Regions from separate parts of the Homo sapiens genome. Here regions 2 and 3 are each linked to region 1. The links are contacts of gene promoters, found by promoter capture Hi-C in blood cells and fetal thymus (Javierre and others, 2016). All regions are on one chromosome and are shown on one strand. Each heading gives the region's core, a stretch centred on a gene start or on the middle of the fragment in contact. The rest is flanking DNA. Distances are from core to core; before and after follow the strand shown.

Evidence for each region. The method cuts DNA at HindIII sites, captures the fragments that hold promoters and counts their contacts. A CHiCAGO score of 5 or more calls a contact.
Region 2: a contact is called between a fragment that was not itself captured here and the fragment with the promoter of TTC36 in region 1, in 1 of 17 cell types (endothelial precursors). The highest score is 5.5, in endothelial precursors.
Region 3: a fragment that was not itself captured here is called in contact with the fragment with the promoter of TTC36 in region 1 in 1 of 17 cell types (endothelial precursors); the score reaches 5.2 in endothelial precursors.

The regions. Positions count from the first base shown.
Region 1 is chr11:118,524,857-118,528,723 of GRCh38, reverse strand. It overlaps TTC36 (tetratricopeptide repeat domain 36), which reads right to left and starts at 1,250. Exons shown (of 3, transcript NM_001080441.4): 1 at 1,112-1,250; 2 at 1-121. The coding sequence starts at 1,229. KMT2A (lysine methyltransferase 2A) reads right to left here. Exons shown (of 36, transcript NM_001197104.2): 36 at 1,892-3,867. All of the region lies in intron 1 of TTC36-AS1 (TTC36 and KMT2A antisense RNA 1), which reads left to right. The HindIII fragment of the contact is 1,033 bases long and covers 851-1,883 here.
Region 2 is chr11:118,443,712-118,448,445 of GRCh38, reverse strand. The region is part of intron 1 of KMT2A (lysine methyltransferase 2A); the gene reads right to left. Among named protein-coding and RNA genes, the nearest start is that of KMT2A, 9.6 kb to the right of the region's middle. The HindIII fragment of the contact is 3,730 bases long and covers 365-4,094 here.
Region 3 is chr11:118,426,727-118,431,551 of GRCh38, reverse strand. No RefSeq gene overlaps it. Among named protein-coding and RNA genes, the nearest start is that of KMT2A, 7.4 kb to the left of the region's middle. The HindIII fragment of the contact is 1,833 bases long and covers 461-2,293 here.

The sequences.
Region 1 (3,867 bases), core at 1-2,500:
AGGCAGATGGCTTGGCCAAACCTCTCCAGGGCTGTGCTGAGGTCCCCAGCCTCTGCTGCCATCACCCCCTGCAGCTCCAGGGCCTTGGACTGTTCCAGCTGTGCTTGAGGGAAAACTTCATCTGGGCCAGGGAAGGAGCCAGGAGAAGCCAGGTGTGCAGTTGGTAGCAAGAAGAAAAAGCCACCTCAGGCTTTGGAATTCTGAGATCTGAGCCAGAGCTGACTGGGTATGGGTCACAGCAGGGGTCAGTTGCAGTGTTTGGGGTAGGGGGAGATGAGGTCACTAAGGCTGGGAGCTAGCATTGCCTGAGTTCCAAGAGACCTGGGAAGGGGCCTTGGTTGGTTCCCCATTGCCAAGAGAATGAAGCCCAGACTCCTCAATCTGTTAAAGAAGTTGCTCAAGTTCTTTGTGTATGGCCTCAACAGGCCATACGTTGCAGAGCTTGGATTTGAACCCAGGTCATTCTGGCTCCTGTCTGCATTTTACTCTACTACACCGCCTCTTATGCAAAGGCCACCATGACATTCCCAGATCATGAACATCACTTCTGACGTATCCCTCTGTGTTTCGGCCTGAGTTAGTAAGGTGTAGGCTTTACTCCTCTAGAAACAAAGGATCAAAAACTCCTTCATTAGGGATTAATGGAAAAGCCAGTGAACGCACTCACTGCGGAAGAGTTAGTTTGGAGCTTGGCTTGTGACAGTGTTTAACGGTTACTGGTTGTGCTTGCTATATTGGAACCACTCAACTGAGCAACCATGCCCTGCCTTATTTCAGTCTTCTGTTCTGGTGGTGGTATTCTCTGTTATGACAAAAATGTGAGAGTTTAACATCACCTGGCAGTTAAGCTTGGATCATACAGTCAATTAAGTGGTAAGTTCAGAGGCATGAGAGCTGATGGATCGAGAGACAAACCCCAGCTTACTCCTCTTGGCAGGACATCTCTTACCAAACCCCCATCAGTGCGCTAAGGAGCAGCCAACCTCTCTGATTCCAATCTCAATCATAATCATGGAACAAGGGGCCTTATAAAACCACCTCCCTCTCTGCTACCTCGGGAGGCCAGCAGGCCAGCCTATGTGCAGAGCTACACTCCAGATCAAATGCCCACCTTCTTCTCGTTCTTCCTTTTCTGCTTCCTCTCCGAGGTCCAATCCAACAATGTCTCCAAATGGGGTGTCAGGGTTGAAGATGGCCTGCAGCACTGCCTGATCATTTGGAGTCCCCATGGTGCTCAACTCCAAAATCCCAAAAGGTGACTCCAGATGAGAGAAGAGGGAGGGACGTGGTGAGGGTGGAGCCTCCAGCAGGAAGTTGATCTGAAAGGATGAGGACCACCCCTTCGTGAGGAGTGTCTCCCTGTCCATGGCTGTAGCATTTGCTCAACCTGTGGCCTGGAGGGTTGACCCTGGCTTGGCAGACTACTTGGTTATTTCTCAACTGCCCCTGCCCCCAGGAGAAACAGTAAACAAATCCAGCTTCAGCCTTAAGGTGGAGTGCAGCTAGAGAAGGTGTTCTCCAGCTTCTCCCTGAAATGCTTTCAGTTTATTATATTCACAGTTGAGAAAACCGATAAAAATCAATACTTAACCTCCTTGGATGAAACAGGGGAGCTATGTAGAAGGTAAAGGCCCTGTTCCTTTGTCCTCTTGACCCTGCCTCATATCCACAATTAATTAGGTCCTGAACATACATCACTGATGAATAAAGGAAGAAAATAGTCAAGAGAGCCAGTGTGGAGTGGACCTGAAGGTGGGCTACAGGGAATAATTTAGTGATGCCACCTTAAAGTAAAGGACTGTGGAAGGTACTTTGTGACCAGGTCACAGGCCATGCCCCTCCCGCTTTTCTCCACCCTCTCCAACCAAAGCCAAAAGGAAGCTTAACCATGTGCAGCAATAAACTTGACATGTTTATTAATTAAACTATCACTTAAATAAAAAAAAGTGCATAGAAAATAAACATGTTTAAAAACTCCTTTTTTTTACAACTATGTACACTTTTTACTTTTACATTCAGTCTTTCGTAGAGAGCTTTCAGCATTATTATTTTTTGAACTATTAAAGTATTTTCCTTCATCCCTGTCACAGGGAGTTAACACTGATGGACTTTAGACACATTTTCCTTTTTTTTTTTTCTCTTTTTCTCTAACCAGAAGCTTGGAAGAACACAAGGAAAAAAAACAGATCTGTTATACATGATAAAGTTGTCAAAAAATGTCTTATTTCTAGAAAAGAAGCTTGTCATCTGTTGAGCTCTTGAAACAATTATTCAACTACCTGTATTTACTAAAGAGACTGTTAAAAGTTCAATAAAAGAAACACCACAATTCTATTTTCTTGGTTGAAAGACAGAACTAGAGTACCTCGGAACAAGATACCAGGAAAGCACAGAACACAATTTTCCCCTAAATGCAGGTGGTAACCCCAACATTCATAACCAAAAATAGAGAAACAAGGAGGACAGGTACTGACTGGCAACATTCATGGGCAGAAAAAAATCCAGGTGACACCATGTCTGCATTTTTCTCTGATCCGAGGAATGGACTGTTCTACCATTCCTTTATGGTTAGAGGTTCCCCCCATTTCGGGAATCAGAGGAAAGTGAGCCTGACATCTTCCTGCCGCTACTAGCAACTGTAACACAATCCTTATCTATAGTGTTAAGAGAATTAAAAGCCATGGACTGAACTAGGCTTTGTTACATGGTGCATTACTATATTAGTTCCTATATATATCATATTTATATTTATTTGAAAACCAAAACAAACAAAAAGTTGCAAGTTTCCAGAGTGTGTGACTTGACTAGTATTCATGATTCGGCACAAAACCATCTGCTCCATAACCTTGTATTGCTTTAAAATGAAGGAAATGAAACATAAAATTACACCCAGCCCTTTGCAATGACCCGCTTTTCCTTAAAAACAAAAACAACTTGATTTCTATTAAAAAAAAAAAATCCCAAACCGAACTTAGAAGTTAACATCTGACAAGGTTTTGACCTTTAGTATTTTCAGATATTTGATTGAACGTCAGTCCTTTAGAAAGATACATTCATTAGAATATTTTTTTTATTTTTGTGTGTGTGTTGTATTTTTTTTTCCTTTTTTTTTTATTTTTTATTTTTTTTAAATCAAGGGAGCTACATGGTGCTCACTGCATTGGCCGGGGGTTTGACGGAGGCGAGCAGGGTGGCGGGCTGGGTCCCGGCAAAGGAGTCTGGTTGAAAACGTATAGCTGCCAGGGCTTCCCCCTTAATTCTTGTTATTGGTGTAAAAACAGAGGGGCTGTGCGAGAGGTGGTGGGTGGCCAAGGAGGGAGCCAAGAGACCAAGTTCCGGCCAAAGGGTCAGCGCCATGCAGCTATTCTGGTTACACAGTTGTCACTGGCCACCAGGAAATGCAGCCACAACAGGTTCTAGCAGCAAAGCTATAAGTGAGCTGGCTCTCACTGAGAACTGACCAGGTTTGCAGCTGTTACTCCTCAGGGATTTGGGATGCCCCTTGGGGGATTCTTGGGAATGACCCATCACAATTCCTCAATCTGCACTTTTGTGCGGAGATTCCCTTGGTCACTTTTGAAATGAACTCAGATGTGTTTGGAGATAGCTGTGCCGTTTTTGCCTTCTTTCCCTCTTGTAGGGAAACCTTCGCTTATTCCCCCAAGTTGCTGGCAGGTGTGCTGAAAATTTGGCAATGGACTCAAGGCTGAGCTAGAAGAGGAATTTCTCATTTTTGTGGTTGACAATTAGGGGGTGGAAAGGCAAGGCAAACCATCTGCAGCTGGCAGGAGAAGGAAGCTGTGGGTTCCTCCCCTGTCCTCAGGGTTTAGGGTTGGTAGAGAGTGAGGAGGGGCTCACAGTACAGCA
Region 2 (4,734 bases), core at 980-3,479, 81 kb after region 1:
TGAGTGATGCAAGCCCTCTACACAGCCTCAAAAGCCAAGGGTCAGAGGCTTTTATAATACTAACTAACATGAAGCAAACTTCTATTAGTTTGGAAATGATTTATAAGCATTTGTTACAATGTATCCACAAGCAGTGACAGCCTTAACAAGAGCTATTCTGAACTATACCTCTTTAAATGACAACTGAAAATGGACATAAAAGCTACAAATACTTATTTGTTTCCTATATTGATACCACACCTACTGTTTTCCTTGGTTTCTCTTGATGTTTAAGATTTCTCTCTTAGCTCCACTTAAAAATTTGTATTCTCCTATAAAGCCACTACAAAAACCATTACTTCCTAAAGAAATATCTCTGGAAGCTTCCTACTGGAAAGTAATTATTGCTTCGAGGAGCTGAATAAGAATTTATTTACTGATTCACAGAAGGAAAAGGTAGCTTAAGAGGTCATTTTATACATATGTAGGCAGGACTGTACTTTTAAAATATACTTCCAGAGAAGATAATAAAATTATTTTGGTAACCTTTTTACCATGACTGTAATGACAACCATCATTACCAATAAGTTCTTTACACAACTACTCCTGATTTCGGTTTAAACCTATTTTCTCTTATTCTGCTGTCAGTGGAGCTGGGAAACCGCTGGTTACCATTCCTAATAATGGATCCATTCATGTTTTTTGAAGAGTTATTAAGTTGCCTCTTAACCTTTCATTCTCTCAACCTTTCCTCATAGGACTGACTTCCAATCATATAATCATCTTTTGAGTCTCCTCAGAACCGTCTCCAAGGTCTCCTCATCCCTTTTAAGTTGAGGAACCTAGAAATGGAAACAACACTCAAGTAAGGGGATGATCAGTGCTAAGTATTATCTACATAAAAGATAATGCCATCCCATCAGGATACCCTAACATCGCTTTCAAAACCCCAATCAATACCTTTACAAAAATGTCGCATCATGGCACCTGTGCTTTCCTTTGCCATACTTAAATTAGTATTTCTTAATGATTAGTCCAAATATTCTGTTCGTAGTCTTAAGTTCTCCTAGTTTATGTAATGTGTCCCAGCAAAGTATTCCTAAAAGTTGTATGGACATCAAATTTTCAATTCAACAAATACTATATAAAAAGTCACCATTATAAAAAACATAAAACATAAATGATGACTTAGAAATGGCCCGTGTCTTAAGGGAGTCACTATCTAATGGGACAAAGACAGACACATTTCAAAAGTACCACGACATAAGGTATACGGGGTTAAATTTTTTAAGGATAACATACAAAACACAAAAAGAAAACAGGAAAGAAGTTCAGTTTCAACTAGCAGTACAATCTGTGAAAACTTCATGGAAGAGTTAGGATCTGGGGATCTGAGTTGAACCATGGGAGACGAATAATAAGCCCAAGACAGGTCAAAATGGGAAAGACTTTAAGGCAAAGGAGAGGCTTTAGCAAAGGTACAAAGGCAGATAAACAAAGACTGTGGAGAACACCTAATAGTTCAGTAGTCCAATGTGGTTGAAGCAGTAACGATGTACATTCAGGAGACACGGTTCAAAATTTAGAAATACAGGCTAGCAAGATCATGCAGCGCTGAGAATCTGAAATTTTATTTCATATTCAGTGAGAAGCCAAAGAATTTTAGGAATAAAGTGACATACTCTGATCTGTATTTAAGAAAACTATCATATTGTGAAGCACTGTGTAGGGTGAAAAGATAGGTGGGAAGACCAATGAGAAGATTACCACAATAAACTATCCAAAAGTAATGGAAATTTAAACTAGGACAGCAGGAACAGAACAGCAGGGACAAATGAAAGAAACACTACAATAATATAATGGACAAGACTCAGAAATTGATTGGATGTGAGTGGGAAGAGAAAGGACTTAAAGACAGCACAGTGTAGAGAGCAAGAATCAACTTTCAAACAGATGTAGGTTCAGATTTAAATTCTAGCCCTGCCACTTACTAGCCATATAACTTAAGGAAAACTGTTTAACTTGTCTGTGCCTCAGTTTCTGAGGTGTATTGATGGTTTCTGATGGTGTACTGAGTATGTTAGCAAATCTTTTCTTTTCTTTTCTTTTCTTTCTTTTGAGACACAGTCTCACTCTATCCTCCAGGATGGAATGCAGTGGTGTGATCTCAGCTCACTGCAACCTCTGCCTCCCGGGTTCAAGCGATTCTCATGCCTCAGCCCCCCAAGTAGCTGGGATTGCAGGTGTGCACCACGACATGTAGCTAATTATTGTATTTTAAGTAGAGACAGGGTTCCACCATGTTGGCCAGGCTGGTCTCAAACTCCTGACCTCAAGTGATCTGCCTGCCTCGGCCTTCCAAAGTGTTGGGATTACAGGATTGAGCCACCCCACCCGGCCTGCAAATCTTTTTAAAGAGAGTACAGCAAAACTGTACTTTTCTTTTTTTCTTTCTTTTTTTTGGAGACAGAGTCTTGCTCTTTCGCCCAGGCTGGAGTGTAGTGGCGGAATCTCAGCTTACTGCAACCTCCACCTCCTGGGTTCAGGCGATTCTCCTGCCTCAGCCTCCCGAGTAGCTGGGGATACAGGTGCGCAACCACCACACCCAGCTAATTTTTGTATTTTTAGTAGAGACAGGGTTTCACCATGTTAGCCAGGCTGGTCTCGAACTCCTGACCTCAGGCAATCTTCCCGCCTTGGCCTCCCAAAGTGCTGGGATTATAGGCGTGAGCCACTGCGCCCAACCCAAAACTGTACTTTTCCTCCTTAAACACACTACTCTTTACTAGTTATTCTTAAACTCTAATCTGCTTTTGACCATTCTGCTCAAGTTCCAACCCCCAGAAATTGCAACCTACAATTCAGCATTTCTTCTATAATTAAATGGTTACTTGCATTGATCTCTGTAGACCAGCACTCATTCTCCTCAAGCTGACACTTAAGAACAAATGTCATCAAGTATAGACTAATGGGTCTGAACCTGGAGCCCAAGAACCCTGAAGAGCCTCAGAGCTGTTATAAGGAACGACCAAGTGCCTCCTCATAAAAATATCAGGAACACTAGTTATAGAGACAACAGGTAGCAACCCCATTATAGCTGCCTTGGCCTGATAATTAGCAACTCATGGAGGCACTGTGTTCCTCGGTATCTTACTTGCCTATTTACCATCTTGTTCTCTTTCTTCTTTTTTGCCTTATCTTTAATATGCTTTAGTTGGACACTAATGTTGTTACCAAGACGGGTGGCTGGCCTTCAATTTGGTTCCACCTAGTTTATAGAAGAACTTGACACTCAGACTAATATCAAGAACATTCTAAGATTATAGCACTCAAATAGGTGTATGTATGCATACATATACAGGTATAACTTAATGTAATAAAAACCAGTTATTTTGATGAAAAAAAAAGATTATAACCCTGCTCTCCTTTCAATCTCTTGGTTCTAACAATTAGGGCTTCCTATGTGCCAGGCAAAATGCTAAGTGCTTACATGCATGATCTCACTTAAGCCTCACAATGAGACTATGAAGCATGAGTACCTCTCAGTTACAAATGAAGAAACAGAGGTATGGAGAGGTTCAAAAACTTTTCTGGTTGGGTGCAGTGCCTCACATTTGTAATCCCAACACTTTGGGAGGCTGAGGTAGGGGGACCACTTGAGGCCAGGAGTTCAAGACCAACCTGGGCAACATGGTGAGACTCCCATCTCTACAACAAATAAAACAATTAGCTGAGTGTGGTGGTGCATGCCTGTAGTCCCAGCTACTTAGGAGGCTGAGACAAGAGGATTGCTTGAGCCCTGGAGGTTGAGGCTGAAATGAAATGTTTGTGCCATTACACTCTAGCCTAGGCAACAAAGCAAGATCCTGTCTCAAACAAACCAAACAAAACACAAAAAAAACTTTTTCAAGATGGCTGAGCTTAGATTTGAACTCAGGCAGTTTAAATCCAGAGCCCATGGTCTTAACAACTCTTAATTACTATGCTAAACGATCTCACACCACTACAGATTAGATTATGAGATTCTCCCTTTCTTCTGTAAAGGTATTTATATATGCACAAATAAAAAATCCTAGCCAAAGAGATTACAAAAGGATTTCCTCATTAGCTAAGCTTAAAGAGATGTTATCCACAAGGTTTTACTGCTTATAATTAAAGGCAATAATCTAGGGACAATGTTTGTGTTTGATCTAAAAAGTGGTCAATCCTCATGGATGGACAGAAGTTGAATATGGGCATGTGTAAATATTTCTTTCTCTAGGTGTAGGATATTTATTAGAGATAAGAATTAACTTTTCCCTAGTGTTTAGAACTGAGATAGTATAAAGGACAGCCTAAAGAAAAAACTATTCTCCAAAACCCTTCTCACAAGTAATATCACTCTCCTAATTCAAGACAGAAAGCTACCATTACCTTGATGCTGTAAAATAAGAATGAAACAATGATGCTTCAGCAAAGCATAGATAATACAAGTGGATCTCTCTAAAACAGTATGAATGTTAGAAAGATTCATATCTTTTGTTGCTGAAAGACATCAAAACATCTATACCCAAACATCCCAACAAAACACAAAACCAGAAATGCAAGAAAATGGATAAAACACTATATACGGAAGAAACTCCAGCTCCTGAAATAAATGCTACTGGACCGATGCTGCCCACTGGTACTTCACAGGGTACTGCTGCAGCAATAATTGAAGGTAAGATATCTGGGGAAATCCCTTCAGTCTATTTGTCAAATAGAAAAACAACTACT
Region 3 (4,825 bases), core at 128-2,627, 97 kb after region 1:
CAATTTCTGCAAACGAATTAATTACTTCTGTTTAAGGGGACTTCTAGATATTTATTCCCTTTCCCCCTCACCTGGAAAGATTTATCTTGAGAACCAATATTGTGACAGAATTAACATCAGCTCAGAGTCACAAATCTGGGCTTGATTTGCATGTCCAATAATGTTAGCTATATGATCTTGAACCAGGCACCCAGCCTCAGTACGTCTTAGTTTCCTAATCTGCAAAAATAAGGATATTAATTATAGCTTCACAAGATTATCATGAAGATTGAATGAGTAAATAAGATGTCTTCTCTCTAATCCAGACAGAAACATTTTCTCCCCAGGGATTTCCTTAACCACTGGTGCGGCTGCCCCTCTGAAATTAGCAATTTTTTCTCCAAAGGGCCCCCAAGTGGACACATTGCATCAGTAGTCCCAAAGTCCTCCAACAAAGAACAGTGGCTGAGTTATTTAAGCTTGTCCAAAGGAAGGCTTGATCATCACTGAGCAGAGAACTGTTCAGAATCCTCAGGTGCTGCTTTTTTTCTGGGGAAAAAAGGGTACAGTCCATTACTCTTCCACAAAAACACTCTTCTAATTAAGGAAGCAATGGCTGCATTTTACCCTGAATCCGTGAATTTCCATTTCTGAGCTTTAAAAAAAAAAAATTATATATATTGGCCGGGCGTGGTGGCTCACGCCTGTAATCCCAGCACTTTGGGAGGCCAAGGTGGGTGGGTGACCTGAGGTTGGGAATTCGAAACCAGCCCGGCCAACATGGAGAAAACCCTGTCTCTACTAAAAATACAAAATTAGCTGGGCGTGGTGGCGCATGCCTGTAATCCCAGCTACTTGGGAGGCTGAGGCAGGAGAATCGCTTGAACCCGGGAGGCAGAGGTTGCGGTGAGTCGAGACTGCGTCATTGCACTCCAGCCTGGGCAACAAGAGCAAAACTTCATCTCAAAAAAATAAATTATATATAGCTATTCCTATGACTAAAAGGACTTTTTTGTTTGTTTGAGACAGAGTCTCACTCTCGTCCAGGCTGGGGTGCAGTGGTGCAAACTCGGCTCACTGCAACCTCCGCCCCAGAGTTCAAGCGATTCTCCAGCCTCAGCCTCCTGAGTAGCTGGGATTACAGGCGCCCACCACGACACCCGGCTAATTTTTGTACTTTTTTTTTTTTTTTTTTTTTTGAGACAGAGTCTCGCTCTGTCATCCAGGCTGGAGTGCAGTGGCGTGATCTCAGTTCACTGCAACCTCCACCTTCCGGGCTCAAGGAATTCTCCCACCTCAGCCTCCCTAGTAGCTGGGATTACAGGTGTGTGTCACCAAGCCCAGCTAATTTTTGTATTTTTAGTAGAGACAGGGTTTCACCATGTTGGCCAGGCTGGTCTTGAACTCCTGACCTCAAGTGATCCATCCATCCCAGCCTCCCAAAATGCTGGGATTACAGGTGTGAGCCACTGCACCCAGCCTTAATTTTTGTACTTTTAGTAGAGATAAGGTTTCGCCACCTTGACCAGGCTGGTCTCGAACTCCCGACCTTAAGTGCGGGTCAGGAGTTCGGCTTCGGCTTCCAAAGTGCTGGGATTATAAGCATAAGCCACCGTGCCCAGCCTAAAAGGACTTTAAATACAACCCTAGCATAGGCATCTGGCTTTCTGTAAAGAGGTCAGGAGTTCGAGACCAGCCTGGCCAACATGACAAAACCCTGTCTCTACTAAATATACAAAAATTAGCCAGGCATGGTGGCGAATGCCTGTAGTCCCAGCTACTCGGGAGGCCCAGGCAGGAGAATCGCTTGAACCTGGGAGGCAGAGGTTGCAGTGAGCTGCGATCACACCACTGCACTCTAGACTTGGCGACAGAGTGAGACTCCATTTCGAAAAAAAAGAAAAGAATTCAGTAGAGTTCTGCGCAAAGGCAAGGGCTAGATGCTTCTTGGACCATGAGCTCTTTGAGGACAGGAAACCGTGTATTACTTATCATTTTATCCCCTGTGCTGAACGGTGTCTATACCACCCAATTAATGTTTGCAAAATAAATGACTCTTCCCAGATGCACTCTTGGACCTTGGGATTTATACCCAAAGGGTCATGTTTTGTCAGGATTTTGGCAGTTACATGTCATGTCCTGGGCTGTTTGGGTTTTTGTGTGTGTGTGTGTGTTTTTAAGAAACATTTTATTTCAAATCACTTAAGCAGTCCCCATTTGAAATTGTACCAATGACAAAAGTTCATATTTTTCAAAGAGACTAATTACAGGAGTAATTATTATTTGATTATGATTGTTTCACCTTGTAGAAGCTTGAAGGAAATGTTACACTAAAGCATTTTCTTTCCTTCTCTTCCTGATTACTCCAAATTGTACTCTCATAGTAGTCTTCTGGTCAGTGTCCTTACTTTCAACCTTTGTGCTTTCTGATTTTCTTTTGTCCTTTTATTTATTCAACAAGCATTTGTTGAGCACCTACTTTGTACCAGGTACTACGTTAGAGCTGGAGATACAAAGGTGCTACGTCATAAAACTTTCACAGAAGCAGGAAAAGGCATGGGGTTTTTGAGAAACAAAGAGTACTTCGGTATTATTTAAACATAAGATATGTGGCGGGGCGCAGTGGCTCACGACGGTAATCCCAGCACTTTAGGAGGCCGAGGCGGGCAGATCACCTGAGGCTAGAGTTCGAGACCAGCCTGGCCAAAATGGCGAAACCATGTCTCTACTAAAAATAAAAAAATTAGCTGAGTGTGGTGGTGCACGCCTGTAATTCCAGCTCCACGACAATTGCTTGAACCTAGGAGGCGGAGGTTGCAGTTAGCTGAGGTTGAGATTCTGCCTCAACAACAACAAAAAAGATATATGTGGGTGGCTGGGCAGGTGGCTCATGCCTGTAATCCCAGCACTTTGGGAGGCTGAGTCAGGCGGATCGCTTGAGCCTAGGAGTTCAAAAGCAGCCTGGGAAACACAGTGAGACCTCGTTTCTACAAAAAATAAATGAAAAAATTAGCCGGATGTGATGTTATGTGCCTCTAGTCCTAGCTACTTGGGAGGCTGAGGTGGGAAGATCCCTTGAGCCTGGAAAGTTGAGGCTGCAGTGAGCCGTGACCACACCATTGCACTCCAGCCTGGGAGACTGAGTGAGACTTTGTCTGGGAAAAAAAAAAAAAAAAAAAAGATACATGTGGGAAAGTGTCAGAAGATGACTGGCCAGAGCATATTAAAGAGTTTGAATTTTATTCTATAAAGGTTAGGAAACATTTGAAAAATTTTGAGCAGGAACCGACATGATAGAATTTGTACCACATCCCTCGGCAGCTGAGTATAAGGCTGGTAGTGATAATAGAGGCAGAAAATGTAGTTAGGATATTTCTGGTCTCTTCCTAGGGGTTCAGACTCATATATCCATATGCAGTAGTCCAGATCATTGGTAATGAATGCAGTGACAGTGAAGATGTAGGAATGAAGACAGATTGCTGAGATATTTAGCAAATAGAATCACTTTTGTTGTCCATTTAGATACAGGAAATAAAGAAAAAGGGCTTTTCTCAGGTTGCTAGATGGGGTCAATAGGGCAGATGGTGGTACCACGAAGTAAGTTAAAGAGAACAAGAGGAAGCAGATGTTTTTAATTAGAGATGATGACTTTGGTTTTGGAACAGTTGAGTTGAGATGTCTGTGAGATCTGCAGGTGGAGCTGTCTAACAAGCAGGTTGGTACACTGGACAGGGGCTCAGGAAAAAATGCTAAAAATACAGATCTGGGACTTGGAAGCATGGAGATGGTAGTTGAAACTATGGGCATGGACCACACAAAAGAGTATGTGTAGCACACAGAGGCAAAGGCATTAAGACTGGAACCAGAAGAAACCCAGGTCTGTGTGATGGGCTATAAAAAGTAGCCAATGAAAGGAGACTGAGAAAGCAGCTCAGGAAGGTAAAAGGGGGCAAGAAGGAAAGCAAAGGAGAATGTTTCAGAGGAGCTGTAAACAATGTCAAATGTGGCAGAGAGGTCAAGAAGCAAGAGGACTGCAAGTGTTCGTTATAGTCAGAGGGAAGTCACAGGTGTTCCCAGGAAGAGTAGGCGTAGGGGAAAGGTGAAGTCTAAATCAGATGGCATTTGGTTAAGAAGAAAATGGGGAAGGCAAGGAGGAACATGTGTAGGAAACTGTTTCAGGAAGCTCAGCTGCAAAAAGAAGGAGAAGGGGCTTTAGCTGGAGTCCCTTAACACATGGTTAAGAGTTGATTTTGGGCCGAGGTGGGTGGATCACCTGAGTTCAGGAGTTTGAGACCAGCCTGGCCAACATGGTGAAACCCCATCTCCACTAAAAAGACAAAAATTAGCCGGGTGTGGTGGCGGGCACCTGTAATCCCAGCTACTTGGGAGGCTGAGGCAGGAGAATCGTTTGAACCTGGGAGGCAGAGGTTGCAGTGAGCCAAGATCACACCACTGCACTCCAGCCTAGGTGACAAAAGTGGGACTCCATCTCAAAAAAAAAAAATGTTGATTTTTGTAAGCTAATTTTTGGTTACTATAAAAGTAGGATATGCAAGAAGTTACAAATACTATGGAAAAATACAAGACAGAAAATCTAGGCTGGGTGCAGTGGCTCATACCTATAATCCCAGCCGAGGAAGCCGAGGCGGGCGGATCTCTTGGGCTCAGGAGTTCGAGACCAGCCTGAGCAACATGGTGAAAACCCGTCTCTACTAAAAATACAAAAATTAGCCAGGCATGGTGGTGGGCGCTTGTAGTCCCAGTTACTTGAGAGGCTGAGGCAGGAGAATCGCTTGAACCTGGGAGGCGGAGGTTGCAGTGAGCTGAGATCGCACCACTGCACTCC